Regions from separate parts of the Homo sapiens genome. Here all the other regions are linked to region 5. Evidence: promoter capture Hi-C in 16 types of primary human blood cells and fetal thymus (Javierre and others, 2016). All regions are on one chromosome and are shown on one strand. The core of a region is centred on a gene start or on the middle of the fragment in contact, and the rest is flanking DNA. Distances in the headings are between cores, read along the strand shown. Region 1 overlaps RPF2 (ribosome production factor 2 homolog). Region 2 has its middle 16 kb from the start of REV3L. Region 3 has its middle 43 kb from the start of SLC16A10. Region 4 overlaps REV3L (REV3 like, DNA directed polymerase zeta catalytic subunit). Region 5 holds the start of SLC60A2-DT (SLC60A2 divergent transcript).

The links. Contacts are between HindIII fragments. The CHiCAGO score rates a contact against its expected background, and 5 or more counts as called.
Region 1: a fragment that was not itself captured here is called in contact with the fragment with the promoter of SLC60A2-DT in region 5 in 3 of 17 cell types (M0 macrophages, M1 macrophages and M2 macrophages); the score reaches 7.6 in M0 macrophages.
Region 2: a contact is called between a fragment that was not itself captured here and the fragment with the promoter of SLC60A2-DT in region 5, in 2 of 17 cell types (total B cells and naive B cells). The highest score is 6.2, in total B cells.
Region 3: a contact is called between a fragment that was not itself captured here and the fragment with the promoter of SLC60A2-DT in region 5, in 2 of 17 cell types (megakaryocytes and M0 macrophages). The highest score is 5.6, in megakaryocytes.
Region 4: a fragment that was not itself captured here is called in contact with the fragment with the promoter of SLC60A2-DT in region 5 in 1 of 17 cell types (M2 macrophages); the score reaches 5.1 in M2 macrophages.

The regions. Positions count from the first base shown.
Region 1 is chr6:111,026,698-111,031,429 of GRCh38, reverse strand. RPF2 (ribosome production factor 2 homolog) reads right to left here. Exons shown (of 10, transcript NM_032194.3): 10 at 3,167-4,732. Among named protein-coding and RNA genes, the nearest start is that of RPF2, 47 kb to the right of the region's middle. The HindIII fragment of the contact is 3,229 bases long and covers 1,082-4,310 here.
Region 2 is chr6:111,496,800-111,501,249 of GRCh38, reverse strand. It overlaps TRAF3IP2-AS1. Among named protein-coding and RNA genes, the nearest start is that of REV3L, 16 kb to the right of the region's middle. The HindIII fragment of the contact is 231 bases long and covers 2,350-2,580 here.
Region 3 is chr6:111,041,884-111,046,438 of GRCh38, reverse strand. It overlaps the pseudogene GSTM2P1. Among named protein-coding and RNA genes, the nearest start is that of SLC16A10, 43 kb to the left of the region's middle. The HindIII fragment of the contact is 1,570 bases long and covers 673-2,242 here.
Region 4 is chr6:111,460,180-111,464,876 of GRCh38, reverse strand. The region is part of intron 1 of REV3L (REV3 like, DNA directed polymerase zeta catalytic subunit); the gene reads left to right. Among named protein-coding and RNA genes, the nearest start is that of REV3L, 21 kb to the left of the region's middle. The HindIII fragment of the contact is 1,940 bases long and covers 1,589-3,528 here.
Region 5 is chr6:111,256,091-111,260,652 of GRCh38, reverse strand. SLC60A2-DT (SLC60A2 divergent transcript) reads left to right here and starts at 1,441. Exons shown (of 3, transcript XR_001743807.2): 1 at 1,441-1,529. SLC60A2 (solute carrier family 60 member 2) reads right to left here and starts at 1,314. Exons shown (of 4, transcript NM_153369.4): 1 at 926-1,314. The coding sequence starts at 952. LOC124901378 (a long non-coding RNA gene) reads right to left here and starts at 4,551. Exons shown (of 2, transcript XR_007059708.1): 1 at 4,513-4,551; 2 at 2,943-3,815. RefSeq lists enhancers at 1,205-1,284, 1,605-1,664, 4,208-4,562. The HindIII fragment of the contact is 14,878 bases long and covers 745-4,562 here.

The DNA.
Region 1 (4,732 bases), core at 1,447-3,946, 230 kb after region 5:
CAGGCTGGCTCCTAGTGATGACTATTTCCAATTCTAAGTAAGAGCTCATGAGGCACCTACATGATTCTTCTTATAATTTTGCCAGAGTCAAAACTAGAAGGTATCTGTCACCAGTTCTCTGCCTCATTCTACGTCCCCATAGTTCCTTCAAGATTAACTGAATGTGCATGTTTGGAATGGAGACTCAGTTATTTCAAGCGGCCAGGTGCTTTGCATGCCATATTTCACCCACCTTGAGGTTAGGATAGAATTACTTTCGGGAGCCCTATTTCTCAATCATGATGGCTACTCCTCTCATTTTCTAAGAATGGAGATAACATGGGAATTTCATCAGCCAGTATTATACCAGTTGCCTTATCAAGTCCCCTTTTAAAATTCTTTGTCATACTGCTACTACTACTACCACAAAACAAAGCCACATTGATTGCCCTTTGCATTTCTTGAGTCTGCAAACATTTTCACTTTTCTTAGAGAACCATATTACTAATTGGTGTTGCCCATGGTTTTATGCACTGTATCTTTTAATTGTCCTTTTAAATCTCAGCTGAGCTCTCAGAGTAGCAGGCGAGGGTTGTGTCGGTTTCATTTAATGCCACACTCCTTCCCACAACACTGCCCTGTCTGCCACTCCCACATACTCTCCTGCCCGTATGGTGATGCTGCTTTTGAGCTCTCATGCCACTTGAGCTTTGATTGATTTTTCAAGATTCTGTCTAACCTTTCCCCAAGGTCACCCTTAATGGAGGAAGGTGCTGGGGGTAAAATTCAAAACATATTTGTGGCATTCACTAGCTTTGACTGGGGAGCCAGATGGATGAAATGGGGCCTCATGGGGACAGTAAAGAATTCTCACGCTCTCCCAGTGCCATAAACCGAGCGGCCTCCGAAAGGCTGAGCCGGAGGTGCTGTTGCAGGTGGTGTCATCTAAACTGATGTCTCTAATCAGTCAAGTCACTATGCTATTTGCTTTGTCAGATAAGTGACTCTGGGGAAATCAGGTAGGAGAGTGGGAAAATAAATTGCTCAAGCTGATAAATGTGAATCTTCAAAATCTATTTCAAATGCAGAAATTAAATAAGCTTGCCTTTCAGGAACCTCTTTCGTAACTCATCCACAGTGTGTGAGAGGGACAGAGGGAGTTACCAGAACACAAGTTCAACTTTAGCTTGGCTCTAACTCTGGTTGCAGGTTCCCCCTCCTACTCGGTGATCTAGTGTCCACAGATGGTGCCTGTGCAGCCCTGGGTTCCAGCTGGGTGAGAGGGCAACGCCTCACGGAGCCAACATCTGCCACTCTGTGTCTGTCTGAGCCCTCAGAAGCCTGGTTTTCAGTTTGAGGAATCAATCCCAATCCAGTAAAGCACTTACAGCTCTGGGGCTTTGATCTTTGCTTGGCAAATGCCCTAACTGCTGAGTTCTACATACTTTGCCATTTCTCCCTTATCTGCCTTCTTTCATACAAGCCCCAGCTTGTATGAAACTAGAGCCAGAGTTTTCTCCCTGTTTGGAACCCACTTTCTGATTCCTTGAACATGTGTGAGAGGAATGGGGGTAGGGGTGAGATGGGTTGGGGAAGGAAGGACAGAAGTTTATTTTATTATTTTATTTTATTTTTGAGACGGAGTCTCGCTCTGTCGCCCAGGGTGGAGTGCAGTGGCGCGATCTCTGCCTCCCGGGTTCACGCCATTCTCCAGTCTCAGCCTCCCGAGTAGCTGGGACTACAGGCGCCCGCCACCATGCCCGGCTAATTTTTTCTATTTTTTAGTAGAGACGGGGTTTCACCGTGTTAGCCAGGATGGTCTCGATCTCCTGACCTCATGATCCGCCCGCCTCAGCCTCCCAAAGTGCTGGGATTACAGGCGTGAGCCACCGCGCCCGGCCGAGAAAGGACAGAAGTTTAATGGAAAAACAGGAACAGAATTAAAACGCATTTATGGGCTGGGCACTGTGGCTCACGCGTGTGATTTCAGTGCTCTGGAAAGCTGAGGCGGGAATATTGCATGAGGCCAGGAGTTCAAGACCAGCCTGGGCAACATAGTGAAACATCGTCTCTACAAAAAAAAAAAAACTAGCCCAGCTGTCGTGGCACCTGCCTGTGGTCCCAACTACTTGGGAGGCTGAAGCGAGAGGATGCCTTGAGCCCAGAGTCTGATGCTGGAGTGAGCTATGACTGCACCACTGCACCCCAGCCTGTGCAACAGAGTGACACCTGATTTCTAATACATAAAATGTATTTATGCTATATTTAAAAACTTTCTCAGCTGGGTGCGGTGGCACACGCCTGTAATCCCAGCACTTTGGGAGGCCGAGGCAGGCAGATCACTTGAGATCAGGACTTCAATACCAGCCTGGCCAACATGGCGAGACCCTGTCTCTACTAAAAATTAGCTGGGCGCAGTGCGCATGCCTGTAATCCCAGCTACTCGGGAGGCTGAGGCACGAGAATCGCTTAAACTCAGGAGGCGGCACTTGCAGTGAACTGAGATCGCATCACTGCATTCCAGCCTGGGCGACAGAGCAAGACTCTGTCTCCAAAAAAATAATAATAAAAACTTTTTTCCAGAGAGCTCTGAAATGGAAAAAGAGTGCAGAATAGCTTCAATTCAATGATGGCAAAGTTAAAATTCCTAACATGGTCTAACTGGCACACTCTGAATGATACGAGAAACACAATGACATCCTTGCTGTTTTTAAACTTGAGCAACTCGAGTTGTTGATATGAGAGACAAACAACATCTAAATGCAAGCTGACTTTCTTTTCACAGCTAGCATATACCTCAAGTAAGCAAGCCCATTTCATCTTCTTTTTCAGAATAGCTTCTTTCAATGAATATCAAACAGTATTCTCTACAATTTCATAATGTATATACGCTAGGATGCATTTGTCTTAAATGCAGTTATGTTTTGACTATTTCTAAGTAAAAGTGCATTAAAAACATAATGAAGCTCGTATTTTTTGCACTGTCTCTTAATTTTATGGTGGACAAAGCACCAATTTCTGAAATTCAATAAAAGCAAACCTTCCTTTGTTGTTCGGATCTTAGCAATGGGTTTAGTAGTTTTAACTTCTTCCATTTTGAAGCCTTCCATTTTTAGCCTTAAGTAGCTAGACATAAAAAGGAAAGGAAGGAGAGATCATGTAAGTAGCTAATCAGATAAATGAAAACTGACTTGAAGTTAAGTTTTATTAGCCCTTTCTTTTCTTGAATTGAGTAATAACATCTCTACTTTGGATTATGTTCAATAACCAAGAAAACAAACAGCACTTAATTTTAAAAAAACAAAAAAAAAGAAACCCAAATTCCATGAAATAATAGCTTGGTAATAGTATTAATATTCCAGAAAAAATATAAGAAATTTGGTATTTAAAACAAAACAAATAACCAAAATGCTTTCCTCATCTACCAAAACCCAACATTAAGTAAAACTTAAAACAGGCAATTTACCACCTCCATTGAAATGAATACATAGTCTCCAATTTATGTGTGTTGTATTCTAAAGTAAGGACAACTGAAAATCAAGATGTGCTCTCCACAAAAAGTGATATAAATGGCAGCTCAAGAGTTCCAGATAGTACAACACTACAAGGTGTTCTCAACAAAAAGTCTTTGTTAGACTTCAATAATACTATTTGGTACTTCTATCAGCAAATAGGAAGCATTCCAATACTTATTAGATCCTCTACCATCAGACACAGAAATTACCTAGAAAACAGAAATGTATTGCCAAATCTCAAACAAGAGGGCTGATTAAAACAAACAAAAACACCCTTAAGACGTCTCACATACAGAAATCATGGCCATCTTTGGGTTAAGATTGGCTGATTTTCCAGTAGTGCTGGGGTAGGTCTTCCTGATAGAGGGGTCCAGGCATGGCAGGGTCCCGTAAGCGGCTGGTGAGGAGGACCCACTGCTTTGCCTCCTACCAGTGATGAGCGAGGCTTTGGGGAAGGACTATGCGTCCATCACTCCTGATGTTCTTTTCATGGCTCCCCTTCTCAGCTATTGTCCATCTACCTCCAGATGGCAGCAAACGACTTATCTGAGCCCCTTCTTCTCATTTAGATATAAAGTGCAAATGTCTGATTCAGGTACGAGACTGTATGGTCTTTGGTTAAACGTATAATCAAACAAAAAGTATAAATGATACCAGCTCCTTCATTTTTCTGGCAAGAGGAGAGTAACAGCTATCCGGAGAGGACTAGGGAAAGCTAAGGAATGGATTCAAAAGAGAAGGGAAAGGGTAGAAGGTAAAGCTGAGGCTCGAACTTTTGCTTAGTGCCAGCATTGTTGATCTGTAGCTGAGCAAGCTTACATAAAGGCATGTATACACAGGCACGGAGCTCTCTAACATGGAATTGAAGTGAAACCCTGTCTCTACAAAAAATCAGCCAGGCGTGGTGGTGGGTGCCTGTAATCCCAGCTACTCGGGAGGCTGAGGCAGAAGAATGCTTGAACCTGGGAGGTGGAGGTTGCAGTGAACTGAAATCGCGCCACTGCACTCCAGCCTGAGCGACAGAGCGAGACTCTGTCTCAAAAAACAACAAAAAAGAAAGCACTGGTACTTCATGTAACAAATTATGATTTGCGTATGTCTGTACCTTTACAACATTACTGGCACTTGTATAAAGGAGATTCCTTGTCAAGGACTGAATCAAGGAACTTAACACCCTATTCCAGAAAAACAAGTATGCAATACTAGTAGAAGGAAGAAGAAAGCTTCTGTTTTCCTAG
Region 2 (4,450 bases), core at 1,216-3,715, 240 kb before region 5:
CCACATAAATTGCTTTGGTCACTAGAATGAGGGAGAAGTGCTAGTGTCAGTTTGGAGTCCATGTGTTTGTGTTTGCCGCCACCCCCAATTTTTTTTTCTTTTTTTGGGAGAGTCTCACTCTGTCGCCCAGGCTGGAGTGCAGTGGCGCAAACAGGTTCAGGTGATTCTCCTGCCTCAGCCTCCCGAGCAGCTGGGACTACAGGCATGTGCCACCACACCCGGCTACGTTTTGTATTTTTAGTAGAGACGGGGTTTTACCATTTTGGCCAGGCTGGTCTCGAACTCCTGACCTCAGGTGATCCGCCCGCCTCGGCCTCCTAAAGTGCTGGGATTATAGGTGTGAGCCACCGCGCCCAGCCTCTGTTTGCCCTCTTCAACACTTCTTCCATCTTCATGAGAAAGATATGCCTAAGTGAGCTGGACAGTCACAGAAGGAGGATGATAGGTAAGTGTCCAGCCTAGAGCAAAGCTCCCAGTAGGTCTGCTGATGTATGAGCAAGCCCAGCTGGGAGGAGCCAACCCTCAGACATGTGAGCTATAATAATAATTATTGTCTTAAGCCACTTTAGAGTGTTTGTTATACAGCAAAACCTAAATGATGCATCTACCCTGAAAAACCTCATCCTGACCATATTATTCTAAGTCCCTTTGTTGTATTCCCAAACTGCTGCAAAAAGTATCCTTTAGTTTTTGCTTGTATTCCTTTGCATTTACTCTTATCTGTACCACTTCTCTTTTAACTGACACCAAAATTCTCCTAATGGTCAGTCTTACAGCTTTGGCATGATCCTCATCCATGCTGGCCTCTGTACAGCACCTGACACTATAGGTCATTTCATACCACTGTTAAATTTCTCCCGCTTTTATTGTACTCCACTAGTTTTTATTTCTTTGATTGTTCCATTTACTTCAAGGGCTCATCTTCTCTCTTCCACTCTTCTAGGGAGTTTATTCATTCTCTCAAGAGTGACTGTTATGTATCTGACTTACACATCTTTATTTCTACTCCTAATCTCTATTTCAAGCTCTAGTTCAGTTGGTCCTCAAACTGCAGTGTGCATCAGAATCACTTGGACGGCTTGTTAATATTCAGATTGCTGGGGCCTCACTCCCAGTTTCCTATTCAGTAAGTCTGGGATGGGACCTGTTAATTTTCATTTTTAGTAAGTTCCCAGGTGATGCTGATGCTGCATCAGTGACCACACCTTGAGAACCACACTTCTAGTTCCATATTTCCAACTCCCTAACAGTTTTCTCCTAGTTATCCATAAGTGCTTCAAATATCACATACAATGTCAATTAGGGTAGTTTTTGTTTTGTTTTGTGTTGTTTTTAATACTGTAACCACTAGTAACTAACAGTCTAACTAATGCAAAAGAAAGATTTATCAGGAAGCTCACTAAAGACTGCAGAACCATGTTCCAAATAAAAAGATAACCAGAAACTAGACTACTTGACAGTAGGAGCATTACCCCTAAGTCTGAAGTAAACTGAGTGTTTGTTGTTTTTGAATCCCTCAGTTCAAAAGTCAATTCCAAATGAGAGTCACCTATCTATCCCTTCGTTGTACCAAGGGAGAGACAGAAAGGATTATGGTGGAAGTAGCCACCAAGGACTCCTTTTCTTTCACATTGTCTTAGTTCAGGCCCTCTTAATTAAGCAGGTAGATTACTACGACAGCCTCTTAACTAGTTTTCTTGCCCCTAACATAACCTCCAATTCATTCTCCACATCATCTTCAGTTATCTCTTTAAGACACATGTCATTTTCTTCTTTGCCTTATCTGGTGCAGTATTCATGTCTTATCTTGTTTTAAGTAATAAATTGCTTTTCTCCATATACAAGTGGTTGCAATATTTTTGCCTTAGCTGACACAAAAAATGGAAAAGCAGTTTGAGAGGGTAGGAAACACAGCCCATTGTAAACTGAGGATCTAATCACCTAGTAATCAGGCAAGAGTCAGAAGCAGAGTACCAAATTTTGGATAGAGACCCCTCAAGGAGGCTTTAAGATATCAAGTCTCTCACTAGACTGAAAACTCCCTCATGGCAAGGATCTAGTTCTCACTCTTTCCCCAGCACCTAGCTCAGCACCTCACAAATAACAAGATTTAATGACATGAAGAAAGTCATCTCCAGACCCTCCCCTACTTTAAATTACTAGCTTACAGTCTCTGCCTGCATATCACCTCACCACCAAATCCTTCCTACATACCACTGCTAAATCAAGCCAATTATCATTTCATTTCCTGCTCAAAACCTTCTGACTGTCCAATACATGCTCGCCAACTCTAAACTCTTCACCATTCAAAGCCTTCCAGAACTTGGTTCTAACCAATTTTTCTAAGCTTTCTTCCACTCCTCATTACACTGTCAGTCTGGATAAATAAGGTTTAACATAACATTTTTCCTGTTCTTGTTGGTTCCAGTTTTTGTAGTATCTGTCTTCCATGATGTCTCCCCTATCTTACCGTCAAAATCTAGTTAAGATGCCACCTGTCAGTGACCTACCACTCTAGGTTATTGGTAACGTATCCTCGTACCCTATGCTCCTTAATTACTTAAGGATCTATTTGAAGCTTTTGTTAATTACTGTCCTGTTCGTATATATAACTTCTAGTAGTTGAACACATACTATCTTAAATTATAATTATGTAGTTGTATTATTTGTCCTACCAGATTTTAAGAGACTTAAGAGCTTTCTGCCACTAATCTTCTATATCCCCAGAAACTTCTGTAGTGCCTTATACATAGTGGGCAATAAGTAAAATCTGTTAAAAAGATGAATAAATGGATGTTTATAATACAGCACTAGTGTTTGGGGCTGGTCCCTTGAGGTAGCCAGCCTGTGACTGTGCCAGGGATTTCTGAGCTGCTGAAATCAGAGGGTAATAAATCCTGGCAGCTTGGAACTGGATGGTGAGTCTAAATCAAAGATCATCAGGTTGAATGGAGATTCAAATGCCAGGAACAAGCATCAAGTGAAAAGGTCCAAAAGACAGAACCTGAGATGAAATGTAGAGCAAAGGGTATGGAATCAGGCAGAGACACAGTAAAGGCAACAGTCGTCATAACATATTGATGAGGATCTGAATGGTGGACTTTGGAGCGGGGGCCATGCAGTGCACTCATCAAGGTGAGTGGTTTGTTGGTAAAATAATCACCTAAAAATTGGAAGTTAGGTTGGCATCCAATTATCATCTCTAGCAAAGAAACACATATATGAAAATAAAAAATTTATAATAGCAAATATAGAGAAATTAAATAGAACCTGCTTTGAGAGGTGGATTTCATTTGAGCTTCATTTTGTTGCTTCTGCCCTGTCACCTTAATTTGTTTCACACATTTGCACAAGTTCACATACAAGTTGTATTTTTTGATTCCTTTATATTATGGAAAAAGAAAAACACATTTTAAAAGAGATAACATCACAGCACCCAACATCAATACAAAAACTCAGAACTTATTTTTACTGTATTTTTTAGATTTTTAATCTTTCAGCGAAGCTGCAATAACAGTGTACATAATAACCACTGATTTTTCTACATGAACTGTTCACAGACTAGAAAATTCTGAGATTTTATAAAAGTTTAAAAATCCTTAAAAATGTTTAAAAAACCCTAATTATGAGAAGTACATATTCTGTTATCAAAAATCCTAAAAAGTTTAATTCCAACAGCTACCTTGCCCTATAAAACATTTGTTTGCCTGTCAATCTGTGAGGTTGGATCGAGCAACTCTGTCCCACACAGCGTTTTCTTGTACTCATTAGTAGTAAGCATTGTGGCAAAGACTAATGTCCTCATGAAAAAGACAGCAAAATTCACTTTAAGTTCTTCTGTACAGGTGCAATAGTCCTCTGAATAAATTGTAAAAATTAAAAAAAAATTTTTTTTTGACACGATCTCACTCTGTTTCCCAGGCTGGAGTGCAGCGGTGTGATCATGGCTCACTGCAGCCTTGATCTCCTGGGCTCAAGCAATCCTTCCACCTCAGCCTCCCCAGTAGCTGGGACCACAGGTGCACACCACCACACCTGGCTAGTTTTTTTATTATTATTTATGGAGATAGAGTCTCACTATGTTGTCCAGGCTGGTCTCAAACTCCTGGCTTCAAGGGATTCTCCCACCTCAGCCTCCCAAAGTGCTGAGATTACAGATGTAAGCCACCATACCTGGCCGGAATTTTGTTATTTTGATTTAAATGCTGAATGAAGTAAGTTTTAAAGCCTATATTATTCTTCCTGATATAACTGACAGAAGGATAAGTTCTCATATTAGGTTCTTTAAAAGTTAATATATTTGGTGGCAACACAGAAGAATAGGAAGATCGCTTACCAAGGAGGTAGGTAACCTGGATCTCACTTACTCTATGGGGTCTTAGGCAAGTCATTTACTTTCTCTGAGTCTCAATTTCTTCATTATAAAATCTAAAGACTTGGATTATTTCAA
Region 3 (4,555 bases), core at 208-2,707, 210 kb after region 5:
CAAGTAAAGCCTAAAACACACACACACACACACACACACACACACACACACAGAATAAACGTCAAAATCCACAGGATCATTTCAATAGATGCAGAAAAAGCATTTGACAAAATTTAACACCCTTTCATGATGAAAAAAAAACACTCAACAAAGTAGGAATAGATGAGAATTTCTTCAACCTAATATAGGGCTTCTACAAAAAACCCACAGGTAACAGCATATTTAATGGTAAAATAACTGATTCTTTTTCAGATGAAGCATCAAGACAAAATGAAGAACAGGACAAAGATGTCCGCTCTCCCGGTTTCTATTCAACATTGTGAAGGAGGTTCTAGCCAAGGCAATTAGGCAAGAATAAGAAATAAAAGGCACCCAGCTTGGAAAGGAAGAAATAAAAGGCACCCAGCTTGGAAAGGAAGAAATAAAAGTATCCTATTAGTTGATGATGTGATTTTGCATATAGAAAATTCTAATGAATCCACTAAGAAACTATTTGAACTAATAAACAAGTTCAGCAAGGTTTCAGAATACAAGATCAATATACAAAGAGAAACTGTATTTCTTTATAGCAGCAATAAGCAAACAGAAAATGAAATAAAGAAAATTCTGTTTACAATAGCATCAAAAAGAAAAAATGCACAGGAATAACTTTAACAAAAGAGGTACAAAGCTTGTATGCTGAAACCTACAAAACATCATTGAAAGAAATTGAAGATTTTAATAAACGGAAAGATATCCTATGTTCACAGATCAGAACACGTAACATTGTTAAGATGGAAAAACTCTTCAAATTGAACTAAGATTCTACACAATCCCTAACAAAAATCTTGGCTGATTTCTTGGCAAAAATTGGCAAGCTAATCCTAAAACTCATGGAAATTTAAGAAACTCAGAATGGTCAAAACAGTTTTTAAAAAGAACAAAGCTGTAGAATTTACATTTCCCAATTCTAAAACTCACTACAAACCTATAGTAATCAAGACAGAGTGGTACTGGCATAAGGACAGACATATCAATCAACAGAACAGAATTGAAAGTCCAGAAATAAAGCCTCACATTTACTGTCAATCGATTTTTGACAAGAGCACACAACCATTCAATGAGGAAAGAATAGTCTTTTCAAAAAATGGTGCCAAGACATTGGATATCCATATGCAAGGGATGAAGATGGACCCTCTAACTCACACCAGATACAAAAATGAATTCAAAATGGATCAGATACTTAAATCTAAGAGCTAAAACTCTAAAACTCTTCAAAGAAAAGACAGGAGTAAGTCTTTATGACCTTGGACTAGGCAATAGTTTCTTAGATATGACACCAAAAGCACAAGCAAAAAAAAGAAAAAAATGTGTAAATTAGACTTTATTAAAACAAAACTTTAGTCCTTCAAAGTACATCATCAAGAGAGTGAAAAAATTCCAATGCTCAACACCATTAATCATCTGATACATGCAAATCAAAACCACAATGAGATACCACTTTACATCCATTAAGATAACTGTAATAAAAATGGAAAATATACATAAGTGGACTTGTGTTATATGGGGAAAAAATGGAAAATAGCAAGCATTGGTGATGATGTGGAGAAATTAGAACACTCGGCCAGGCATGGTGGCTCATGCCTATAATCCCAGCACTTTGGGAGGCCAAGGCCTGAGAATTGCTAGAACCCGGGAGGCGGAGGTTGCGGTGAACCAAGATCATGCCACTGTACTCCAGCCTGGGCGACAGAACAAGACTCCATCTCAAAAAAAAAAATAAATAAATAAATAAATAAATAAAAAATAAAAAGAAAAGAAATTTGTAATTAAAGATGTGCTTTGTTGAGTTGGTATGCCACAAAGTTATATAGTCCTAAAAATATGCCTGTACTCTTCTTACCTGGCGACTCCAGAACTGAGGGAGATCATGGAAGGATGAAAGCAATAGGTTTCTCATGGCAGTGAATATGATTTTCTTCTTCAATTTTCCTTCTCCTTCTTGTTAAATAAAATTCCCCTGGTTGCAACTTCCTAATGAGAGGATTGATGACAATTGAGTTCTTTTGGAAGATCCATCTTTAGGCAGATTTTGGTTGTATCACTGAAGCTGTGACTGGGATGTCATATATGAGAAGATATATAGAATGAATCTATAGGTACTGCAGGCTAAGTCTAAAGTATGCCTTGATTTGGCTTCCTAGCCTAAAGAAGTTTTAAAATGTCCATTCTTAGAGTTCTTATCAAAAGTTCCAGCAAAGCTTTGCAGCAGTTAATGTTATAGAAAAAGAGAAAAAAAGTTCCAGCAGTCTGGGTGCAGTGGCTCACGCCTGTAATCCCAGCACTTTGGGAGGCCAAGGCAGGAGGATCACCTGAGGTCAGGGGTTCAAGACCAGTCTGACCAACATGAACAAACCCCGTTTCTACAAAAAATACAAAATCAGCTGGGTGTGGTGGCGCATGCCTGTAATCCCAGCTACTCGGGAGACTGAGGCAGAAGAATTGCTTGAACCTGGGAGGCGGAGGTTGCAGTGAGCTGAGATTGCACCATTGCACTCCAGCCTGGGCAACAAGAGCGAAATTCTGTCTCAAAAGAAAAAAAAAAGTTCCAGCAAAGGAAACTTAAAAACAGTCTGTGTGGTCATTCACTATTCCTGCTGCTCTTACGTAAATAATCAGGCTAAGTTTGATGAGACTAACCTTATTTTGTAAACACATTTGTGTTATTCTGATTATTTTTGGTAGAAATGGGAGTAACTGCAGAGAGAAAAACTGTTTCTGAAGAAAAGCTATAGTACACCTGCTATTAGGTTGTGGCTTTGCTCATCGTTTTCAAGTTTTTCTTATCTTCTTGTAGACTGGACTAGATTCTAGAATTCTCTTTTCCTCCAATATCTGGCTACAATTCTCCAACTAAGAACAAGAACTGCTCTGTACCCAAAGCCCTCTAAGCTGAAACCAGACAACTCGTTGTAAATTTCAAGGGACAAGTGCCATTCCTGATGTGTTGGCCACACAGAGTTCACCAAAACGCCTGATGCCATAACCAGAGACATTCAAACTGCAAACCAGGGAAAGAGGTTGACAACTTCATGTTGTAAACAGCTTTTCCCAAGGTGTCAGCACAAGACTGCCTATCATAATAAGACTCTTGCCCCTCTGAACTTTTTTTTTTTTTTTTTTTTTTTTTGCCCATCTTTTTCGCTTGGCACAGTCAGCAGCTCCTGCGGGGGCAATCTGATGAACTGTTGGATCTGTCGTGTGAAACCCAAATCTTTACATAACCTAAGAGCTTCTTTAGTCCATCTAGTGGGTAAGTTTAGCAACATCCCTAACGTAACTGTTGTTCAAATTGTACTAGTGGTCCCTTTAATAGGGTTACACTTCTAGATCCACTTGTTCTCACTCTCTGCTTTAATATAACCCAGTCATAGGATACCAGATTTCCTGCTAGCTGTATAGTATAGGAGGAGTCTGTGCCATTGATAACACTTCTTGTTGTACATGGGTAGATACGTTGGGTATTACAGAGACTTGGTTGCAAAAAATGAACAGTCTGCTTGGTTAAAACAAGTGGACTCCTCATCTGGCTCATTCTTTGATCTATTCAATTTTAGTTGGTTTGGTTCATGGGGACCCTGGCTAAGGAGCTTATGCCAAACTGCTGGTATTATCCTCCTGATAGTCATAATAGTAGTCTTGCTGGTGTGCTATATTCTCTCAAAGGTTTTAAATACTTACATGTAGCCATCCATCGAACATTGAATGATCTCTCTTCAGCTAGAATAACAAAAACTCAAAGAAATATGTGATCAGACCAGACTTGATGGCTCACGCCTATAATCCCAGCACTTTGGGAGGCCAAGGCCAGCAGATCACGAGGTCAGGAGATCAAGACCATACTGGTTAACATGATGAAAATTTGTCTCTACTAAAATACAAAAAAAAATTAGCCGGGCATTGTAGCGGGCACCAGTAGTCCCAGCTACTCGGGAGGCTGAGGCAGGAGAGTGGCGTGAACCTGGGAGGTGGAGCTTGCAGTGAGCCCAGATCGCGCCACTGCACTCCAGCCTGGGCAACAGAGCGAGATTCTGTCTAAAAAAAAAAAAAAAAAAAGCAAAAGAAATATGTGATCCTGAGGACACCACAATCTAAGAATGGTACATCGAGACCAGAAACCCAGAATGATGGTAACTGAGAGCAGTGTGAATGGCCTAGGTTTTGGTCGCACTCTCACCTGGGTGACAGCCTGACCCAAATGGTGAAATTGTTTAAAAAAAAAAAAAGTATAGGAGGCCATTGGTTTGGACTGAGCTCCTGCTTTAGATCCAACAGATCAAACCAAAATGGAGTCAGTCATGCTAAAGTTTCACATCACCAAACTGAAACTAAGTTGTTTATCTAACATTCTGAGAAATCAGGCGAGAGATAATAGCTAAATCCCCAAACAAGCAATTTCAGCCAGTATGATAAAGAAATCCCCTCTCCTTTAGCCTTTACAAGGAAAGTATAACTTTGAAACAATCAATCGACTTTTTGTTTTCTGTTTTGGCTTTTCTCAGCCTTTTTCTGTCTA
Region 4 (4,697 bases), core at 1,309-3,808, 200 kb before region 5:
GCGCACGCTGCCATGTCCAGCTAGTTTTTTGTATTTTAGTAGAGATGGGGTTTCACCATGTTGCCCAGGCTGGTCTTGAACTCCTGAGCTCAGGAAGTCCACCTGTCTAGGCCTCCCAAAGTGCAAGGATTACAGGCGTGAGCAACCATGCCCGGCCCTGTTTTCCTTTTTGGAAAACATAGATAACAGAACTCATTTTTAAAAGTGTATGTACCAAAATGTAGTTTTTTAAATTGTTGTTTCTATTCATTTCTTTTTTCTTATCTCTTAAGAGTTCCATTTATATCTTAGACTGCATATAAGTCTGTCTTTTTATTTCTTCCTATATGTATGTTGTTGAGAACACACAGCATATACTTTTTACATTTTTTCTGTTTCTAAATATAAATTATCACAGATTCTTTTCTTTGGCATTTTTAAGAAGATGTTTTATCTATGCTGCTGAATGTTTGTTTAGGTCCCATTCCATACATACCTATCTATGAACAAGGGCTATTTTTCCAAGCCTAGTGTTTGCCAGTAGGTAGGGTATGGCAAGTTCACTTTAATCATATTTATTTTCTGCTTATAAAAAGATAGATTTGCCTTCCCTAGCATAAAGAACTAATGATCGTATACAACCCACTTAGATGAAAACATTCACTTAGTGTACCTCTACTGGATTGAGGTTTAAGGTTTTTTCCACTTTTCTCCTTGCACAGTTCGCTGGTATATGGGAACTAACATATTTATGGATAACCTGAAACAGTTTTTTTTTTTAAATTTTTGTTATTTATTTATTTATTTTACCAGAACATTGCATGCAAGCCTCCAGGTTGTAAAGGCCCTTAGGACTTTTAGTGATTTAATCAGTGATGGGAGCTAATTCATTTATTTAGATTTTGGATGCTTTTTAACATGCCAGGATGAAGACAGCTATGCTGCGTCAATTATGTTGATATTGGTTGTTTTTAGAGTAGATGAACAGAGGTATTACATGTCTTAGAAAATTTTTAGTAGGGGACTGGTTTCTGTTGGAGCAGACCGTGTCCCCAAGGTAGAGAAAAGAGTTACACAGTAAGTCCTTGCTTAATGTCCATGACAGGTTCTTGGAAATTGTGACTTTAAGTGAAATCACATATAATGAAACCGTTTTTTTCTCATTGTTATAATAAAATGAAGTTGAACAAAATGTCATTTGGAGATCTGCTACAAAGTTTTTCTTAAAGTTTAGGTTTCCAAGAACCTATCAACAAAGTTAAGTGAAAATTTACTGTATGTCTTAAATATTTTAGTGAAAAATTTAGAGAAGGATTATTCTGTATTTCATCAATTCTAAGAAGTATATTTTCCCTCCTTGTGCATCTCAGTAATTAGGATATGTCTTACAATCAGTAGTGCACCATATTTACTTAACAGCACTTTTCTTAGTACAAAAATTAATTATGTCATAATCACTAGCATCTTGGATTCAGTGAAATATATTAATAGTTGTTTAGCTTAGTGCCATTCTAAATTGAATCTCTTTATTTGTTGTAACATTAACCTTTCTTCTCTTCGGACAGTTTTGGCCTTGGCTTAACTTCCTAGCTTTGTTCACTTGGAAGCTTGATAAGGTAGAATATCAGTTGTATAACCGAGCACCATTGCTTATGGTAATAATGACTCATGATTACTGAATTGCATAAGGACCAGAGGAGGACTGTGAATGAATTGTAAATACTGGTACTTATACCGTTAACAGCTTTGGACTTCCCTGAGTGTGATAACTCTTGCAACTAAGCAAATCTGTTGCTGAAGCTCAGGAAGCTATGCCTATGAGACTGGAGATATTGGTTGCTATTTGGTACCTGTAAGCTAGAGTAGCTACTGCAAGGACCTTATGCTCTCATTCTCTTACACTTGATCTGCCACCTGAGAGGGCCAAAGATACTAGCCCCCGAATTGCAATGAGGACTCCTGCCTGACATGTTAAGTATAACCAGCCTGTTTGGGTTATGTGAGTCTCGGTGTCTAGTTAGGCCTAACGGGGTGTTGTACTTACATTCTGTGGCTTTATTTTGTTTTTAATATTTGCTGAGTGAATCTATATTTACTATTTATTCGTCATAAGAATTTTAAATTATAAATATGAGCACATCTCTACTAAGTAATGCCAAATTGTTTTCCAAAGTGATCATACCAATCTATACTCCCACCAGAAGTGTGAGTTTCTGATGTTCCACATCTTCACCAATATTTAGGATTGTCAGACTTAAGTTTTAAATTAGGAATTAATTTAAAACATCTCATTGTGGGTTTGTACATTTTTCATCACTAGTGAGAGATTGAGTTTTTCCATATGTTTATAGCCTACTCGTTCTATAAAATACTGAGAGATGTGTTGAAGTCTCCAACTTAATAGATTTGTCTATTTCTCTTTCCAGTTCTATCAGTTTTTTTTTCATGTATTTTGAAAGTTTGTTAGATCCATACATATTTAAGATCGGTGTGCCTTTCTGGCGGACAGCCTCTTTATCTCTGGTAATATTCCTTGTTCTGAAATCTTCTTTGCCTTGTATTAATATAACCACTTCAGCTTCCTTTTGATTAGTATTTACATGGTATATCATGTCAAAAACTGAAGTTTGCCATGAATTTCATACATATTAGCAATAGACATGAGATTTCCATCTCTCCATTGTATCACTTATTAATAAAGAGTAACTGGGGAGATGGTTGCAGACCAGATACTGAGAAGTAGGTTCAAAGGCAGCTACCTCAACAGAGACCCATGGAGAATTGTCTCCCAACATATTTTTTCTGTTTTTGTTTTTTGTTTTACTTTCACTTTCAACCTATCTGTATCTTTACACTTAATATGGGTTTCTTATAGTCAGCATATAGATGGGCTTACTTGTTTATCCAGTCTGATAATCTCTGTCTTTCATTTTGACATGTCTCTTTTATTTAGTGTGTTTAGATTGTTTATATTTATCAACATTGGTAATATGGTTGGATTAAAATCTACCACTATGGTATCTGGTTTATGTTAGTCTATCTGTTCTTTTTTTCTTTTGGATTACTTGGACTTTTTAAAAATTCCATTTCTCTCCGCGGTTTGCTTATTTATTTATACCTCTTTCTGAAATTTGTTTAGTGGTTGCCCTAGGGTTTGCCGTATATTTGTAATTAATCACAGTTTTCTTGATATAATAATACATAGCTTTATATGTAGTATTAGGACCTTATAGTTCTATACTCCCATTTCTCCTCTTCATCTTTTATGTTTTTGTTGTCATACACTTTACTTTTATATATATGCAATCAACATGCAATATATTACTACTCTAAGACTTTACAGTATATTGCTATAGATTTTATAGAACTGTTCATGTAGGTTATAATAAATTTATTTTTAAAAAGTCTTCAATAATTAGCCTTACCTTACTGTAACTTTTACTTTATTAACTTCTTAGTTTTTTAAACTTTTTTACTCTCTTACAATAACTTAGCTTAAAACAAATACATTGTACAGCTGTACAAAAGTATGTCCTCATTCTGTAAGCTTTTTTCTATTTAAAAATTTTTAATTTTTACTTTTAAAACTTTTGTTAAAAACTAAGACGCAAATACATTAGCCCTAGGCCCACAGAGAGTCAAGCTATAAATATCACTGTCTTCCACTTCCACATCTTGTCTGGAAGGTCTTCAGGGACAATTACACACATGGAACTGCCATCTCCTATGATAACAGTTCCTTCTTCTGTAATATCTCCTGAAGGACTTACCTGAGGCTGTTTTACAGTTAACTTTCCTTTTTATGTAAGTAGGAGTACATTCTAAAATAATGATAAAGTATATAATAAATACATAAGCTAGTAACTGTTACCATGATCAAGTATTATGTACTTAACATAATTGTATATGCTATACTTTTATACAACTGGCAGTGTAGGTTTCTTTACACCAGCTTCACCACAAACACGTGAGTAACTCATCGTACTACAATGTTAATACAACTAGGATGTCCCTAGGCGATAGGAATTTTTCAGCTTCATCGTAATCTTATGGGACCACCATTATATATGTGGTCCCTTGTCGATTAAATATCATTATGCAGTACATGACTGCATTTTTGCTTTAGAGACAGTTATCTTTTAGAACAATTGCAAATAAGAAAAATATGAAGTTTTGTATTTACTTTCATTTATACCGTTTATACTGTTGTTCATGTCTTTGTGTAGATCCAAGTTTTCTGTCTGGTATCATTCTGTCTACCTGAAGAACTTTTAACATTTCTTATAGGCCAAGTCTGCTAGTAATAAATTATCTTTGTTTCTCTCAAAAAGACTTTATTTTTCTAAAATATTCTTGCTGAATATAGAATTCTGGATTGCCTTTTTTTTCTTTCAGTACTTAAAAGATGTCACTCTACTGTTTGTTATATGGCTTTTACGTATATATTTTTATTTGAATTAAATTTTTTTTCTTTTTCCGCTTTTATTTTAGATTCCGGGTGTACCTGTGCAGGTTTATTACAAAGGTATATTGCATAATGCTGAGGTTTGAAGTACGACTGAACCCGTCACCTAGGAAGTGAGCATAGTACTCAATAGGTAGTTTTTCCATCCTTGCCTCCCTCTCCCATCTTGTATTCTCCAGTGTCTGTTTGTTCCCATCTTAATGTCCATATGTACTCATGGTTTGGCTGCCACTTGTAAGTGAGAACATGGGGT
Region 5 (4,562 bases), core at 192-2,691:
CCTCTCAACTCCCCCAGGATCATAATTATCAAGTGATAAGGAGGAGGTTTCCGAAAAGTGAATTGAGTGGCGACCCAGGGGTTTGGCAAAAGGCGCCTCTAGGCTTGCCCTTTGCTCCAAGAAAAACATTTAAGAATCTAAAGGTTGGTTTTATTAATAAATAGGATGGTGGGCAGAGTAAAAGACATATTTCTGGCTCTATCACTTAACCAGCTGTGTGATCCAGAAAGTCACTTTCCCCTCCGGGCCTATTTCCTTATCTGCAAAATTAAGCGGTTGGCTGAATTTGGTCAGATCACCAGGAAGAAATTCCAGAAAAGTAGTTTTTCTGTGTAATAATTTGGGGGTTGAGTGGGTGGGTGCGGAGAGCAGCGGCCAAAGACCTGGTGAACCCCTCTTGCAACCTTCCCATCCGACGAAGGAGACGTAGGAAGGCTTGCCGGGCCGGGCGCCGTGGCTCACGCCGGTAATCCCAATACTTTGGGAGGCCGAGGTGGGCGGATCACCTGAGGTCAGGAGTTTGAAACCAGCCTGGCCAACATGGCGAAGCCCCGTCTCTACTAAAAATACAAAAATTAGCCGGGCTTAGTGGCAGGCGCCTGTAATCCCAGCTACTCGGGAGGCTGACGCAGGAGAATCGCTTGAACCCTGGGGGCAGAGGTTGCAGTGAGCCGAGATCGCACCACTGCACTCCAGCCTGGGCAACAGAGCGAGACTCCGTCAAAAAAAAAAAAAAAAAAAGCTTGCTGGAGCTGAAAGACGTATTCAGAAAATCTATTTCCTCCAAGATTAGAATTGTGCCCATTTTCTAGATGATGAAACTGAGGCCCAGTCAGATTAGGTAACGCGCCCAAGGTCAGTTTGCAAGTGGCGAAGGCAAGACTCGAACGCCCCGGCCTGGGAGTGTTGCAGCCCCGGCTCTCACCAGCCCCAGGAAGGAGGCACACAGCATCAAGGTGGTGAACCACCGCAGCTTGCTCCCGGTCCCACCGCTCTGCCAGGAGACCACCACCACCTCCGGCTCCGGCTCATTCTCCGCCGGGGCCTCCGCCTGCAGGAGCCGCTGCCCCGCAGCCGGGGGCCCGGCCCCACGGAGCTCCACCTCTAACTCCAGCTCGGCGGCTCCGGAGAAGTCGTCTTGCTGCCGCCGCGCTTCTCAGCAGAACTTCTGGAGCTCCGAGAAGAGCACTGGCCCCGACCCCAGGCACGGGTGTCCCTCCGGGCGCCACCTCCCAGCGGACCGCCCGGAACCGGGGCAGAGAAGAGGAACTTCGGCACGCCGCAGGTGTTCGTGGCAAAAGACGCTCGCTCTCCAGCAAGCAGGCGCATGCGCGGGTCACGTGGCGGAAATGTGGCCTCTCGCCAACCGCTATCGTGCCTCAAGCCGGAAGTTGATATGGTTGCCTAGGAGACCGGACGTAGCTCTCTAGCCTAGGCATCATACTTAGCTGAGCTCACAGAGGCTGGCGGACGTGCGCCCCATGGCGGAGCGAGCTGAAGTTGCAGCCTGGGACCAGGGAAATCAAGAGGTAAAAATGCGGCCAAACCATTATGAGGAAAAGGGGCCAAGAATTACACTGTAGCGCCTCGCGCCGGCTCCCCGGTCTCCTGGGGAGCGAAGGGAGCCTGAAGAGCTGGTCCTTATACAGCTTTCTGAAATCCCTGAGATCTGTCAATGAATCGCGCATCTTTCACTCCACAAGTATTTGTTGAACGTCATTGTGTAAGTTATCACGTATATTATCTCAACCCTCACAACACTCCAAATTCCACGTTATCCCCGTTGTACAGATAGAAAGATTAAGTCATAGAAAATAATTAACAATCTGCCCAAGCTCAGTCATCGAATTAGTGGCCGTATATAAACAGTGTAACAGTAGCTCAAGAAAGAAATCGGGATCCAAAGCTGTGGTTTCAAACACAATTCCTGAAATAATTCCAATTCCTGAAATAATTCCATCGTTGTAAAGAAGTGGAGCGTGGCATCGATTTGAGGAATTTTTTTTATATACTTTAAGTTTTAGGGTACATGTGCACAACGTGCAGGTTAGTTACATATGTATACATGTGCCATGTTGGTGTGCTGCACCCATTAACTCGTCATTTAACATTAGGTATATCTCCTAATGCTATCCCTCCCCCCTGATTTGAGGAATTGTTTTCCTTTTGCTCTTTAACAAAGCGTACCACAGCCTCAAAATGTTATATACTTTTCTTTGTGGTCTATTTGAAATGTTCTTTTCCACCTGATTCTTCCAACTTTCATCCACTTAGGCTCCCAGACTACAAACCTTAGTCTCATCATCCCTTGCAACCCGTCTCTCCAGACTTATTCGTTTAGTCATTAAGTCTTCCCCCCACCCGCACCCCCACTTTTTTTTTTGTTTGTTTGTTTTCTTTTTTGAGACAGAGCCTATGTCGCCCGGGCTGGAGTGTTGTGGCGCTTTTTGGTAGAGACGAGTTTTCACCATGTCGGCCAGGCTGGTCTCGAACTCCTGACCTCAAGTGATTCGCCTGCCTTTGGCCTTCCAAAGTGCTGAGATTACAGGTATGAGCCACCATGCCCCGCCAAGCATTTCTTTTTTATTTATTTATTTATTTATTTATTTATTTATTTATTTATTTATTTGAGACGGAATCTCGCTCTGTCGCCCAGGCTGGAGTGCAATGGTGCGATCTCGGCTCACTGCAACCTCTGCCTCCTAGGTTCAAGCGATTCTCCTGCGTCAGCCTCCTGAGTAGCCGGGATTACAGGCGCGTGCCACCACGCACGGCTAATTTTTTTATTTAGTAGAGACGGGGTTTCACCATGTTGGTCAGGCTGGTCTCGAACTCCTGACCTCATGATCCGACCGCCTCGGCCTCCCAAAGTGCTGGGATTACAGGCGTGGGCCACCGCGCCCGGCCCGCCAAGCATTTATTTTAGAGCAGGTCAGCTGGCATTCCTTCATATGAGAATGTCTTTATTTCACTTTGATTCCTGAAAATATTTTCACTGAAAATAGAGTTCTGGGCTAACCGTTATTTCCTTTCAGCACAGAAAGATGAGATTTCTATTCGAGTTTTAGCTACCCATGCCACCCAACAGTTCCCAGCTGGGGTCTCTCCTCAGGACAAACCACAAGAAAAGAAGAAAAAAGCCAGGAAATTCATCCCCTTGCAGGTTTCTAAGTTTTGACTCCCTACCTCAATTCTTTATTTACTTTTCAGAGGCGGCAGGTAGTTGCCATTTGTATTTTGTCATGAGTCTTTCAGTCGTAATCAGTGAGAGAGGGGCTGAAGTAGACTAATGACGCCAAACCAGGACTTTTCTACCTATCTTTGGAGAATCCATGTTAAAACAAACAAACAAACAAACAAACAAACAAAACCTACTTTGGTAGGTAGTCTTTTCTCACCTGCCTTTCAGCCTTGAGGCTGGTTTAGTTTCACAACTATATAGTTGTGCTGCTCCTAAATCTTGTCACAGGTTTTACCTCGTGTTACAGTTCTTTTAGCACTTATCTTCAGTTCCTTAGTAGATTATAAACTCAATGAGATTGAAACTATGGATGTTATATGTCTCTCCCCTAACATTGTATTACATACTTAGTAGCTATTACCTAACTGAATTGATTAATTACCTAACTGAATTGAGGTTCAGTAAAGCCATTTTTAAATTAAATATTTTAATTCACCCTGATTAAATGTAAAAAAAAAAAAAAGAAAAAGCCTTCTCTAAATGGAAAGATCTACTTTCTGATTCTTCATTCCCCACTTCACTCTTGAAAGCAGCAGTATATTTTTTCCAGTTGCCTCCAGAGGTCACCCACCACCTTTGAGAAAAAAAAAAAAAAAAAAAAAAGCATAAACTACAGCATTGCTTCATGCAGATTTCTCTTAGATCAATAGTGAGGATCAAGTTTTTTCTTGAGAGGCAATTTCAGAGAAATAAAGTGTCTATGAGCCACATTTTCTACTGAAAATAAATATAGCTTTATTGATTCTCTTAAAAAATAAGTATTTTACAATGTATATGGCTTAATTTATCTAAAAGGAAAATATCTGGATTTTAGTCACTAATCTGGTACTATCTGGGTGTATTTGTGAAATAGTAACAAGAAGGCAGGTTTTAATCTTTCAACTTAACTTTTTACTTTGGGTGAGAGAGAGAAATTAGACAGATCATGTTTGGAGACTGCATATCACTGTGAGGACCTATTTAATTTTTATTTGCCAGAAGGACCATCCTTTTTACTTATCATGTGATGTCCAATTTGTGCTTACAGTGCATCATGAAGAACTAAGTGTCACCATAACTGTTTCTTTCTGTATACTAAACTATCATTCTTTAACTTCACTGCTAAAAACCCAGTCTATTAAAACTATCTCTCACGAAGATTTAATTTCAGTTAGACAACTTTTATGGTTTATGCTATGTACTTTGAAAAGTTAGAAATAATGTTGAAATGATCTGACATTGGTGATGTTTGATAGAATAAATTATTTATCTTATTAAAAATTAAAACTTACTGATTTTTAAGTTTCCTTTTTTAAAAGGTATAAACTTAAAATTTTCTTCT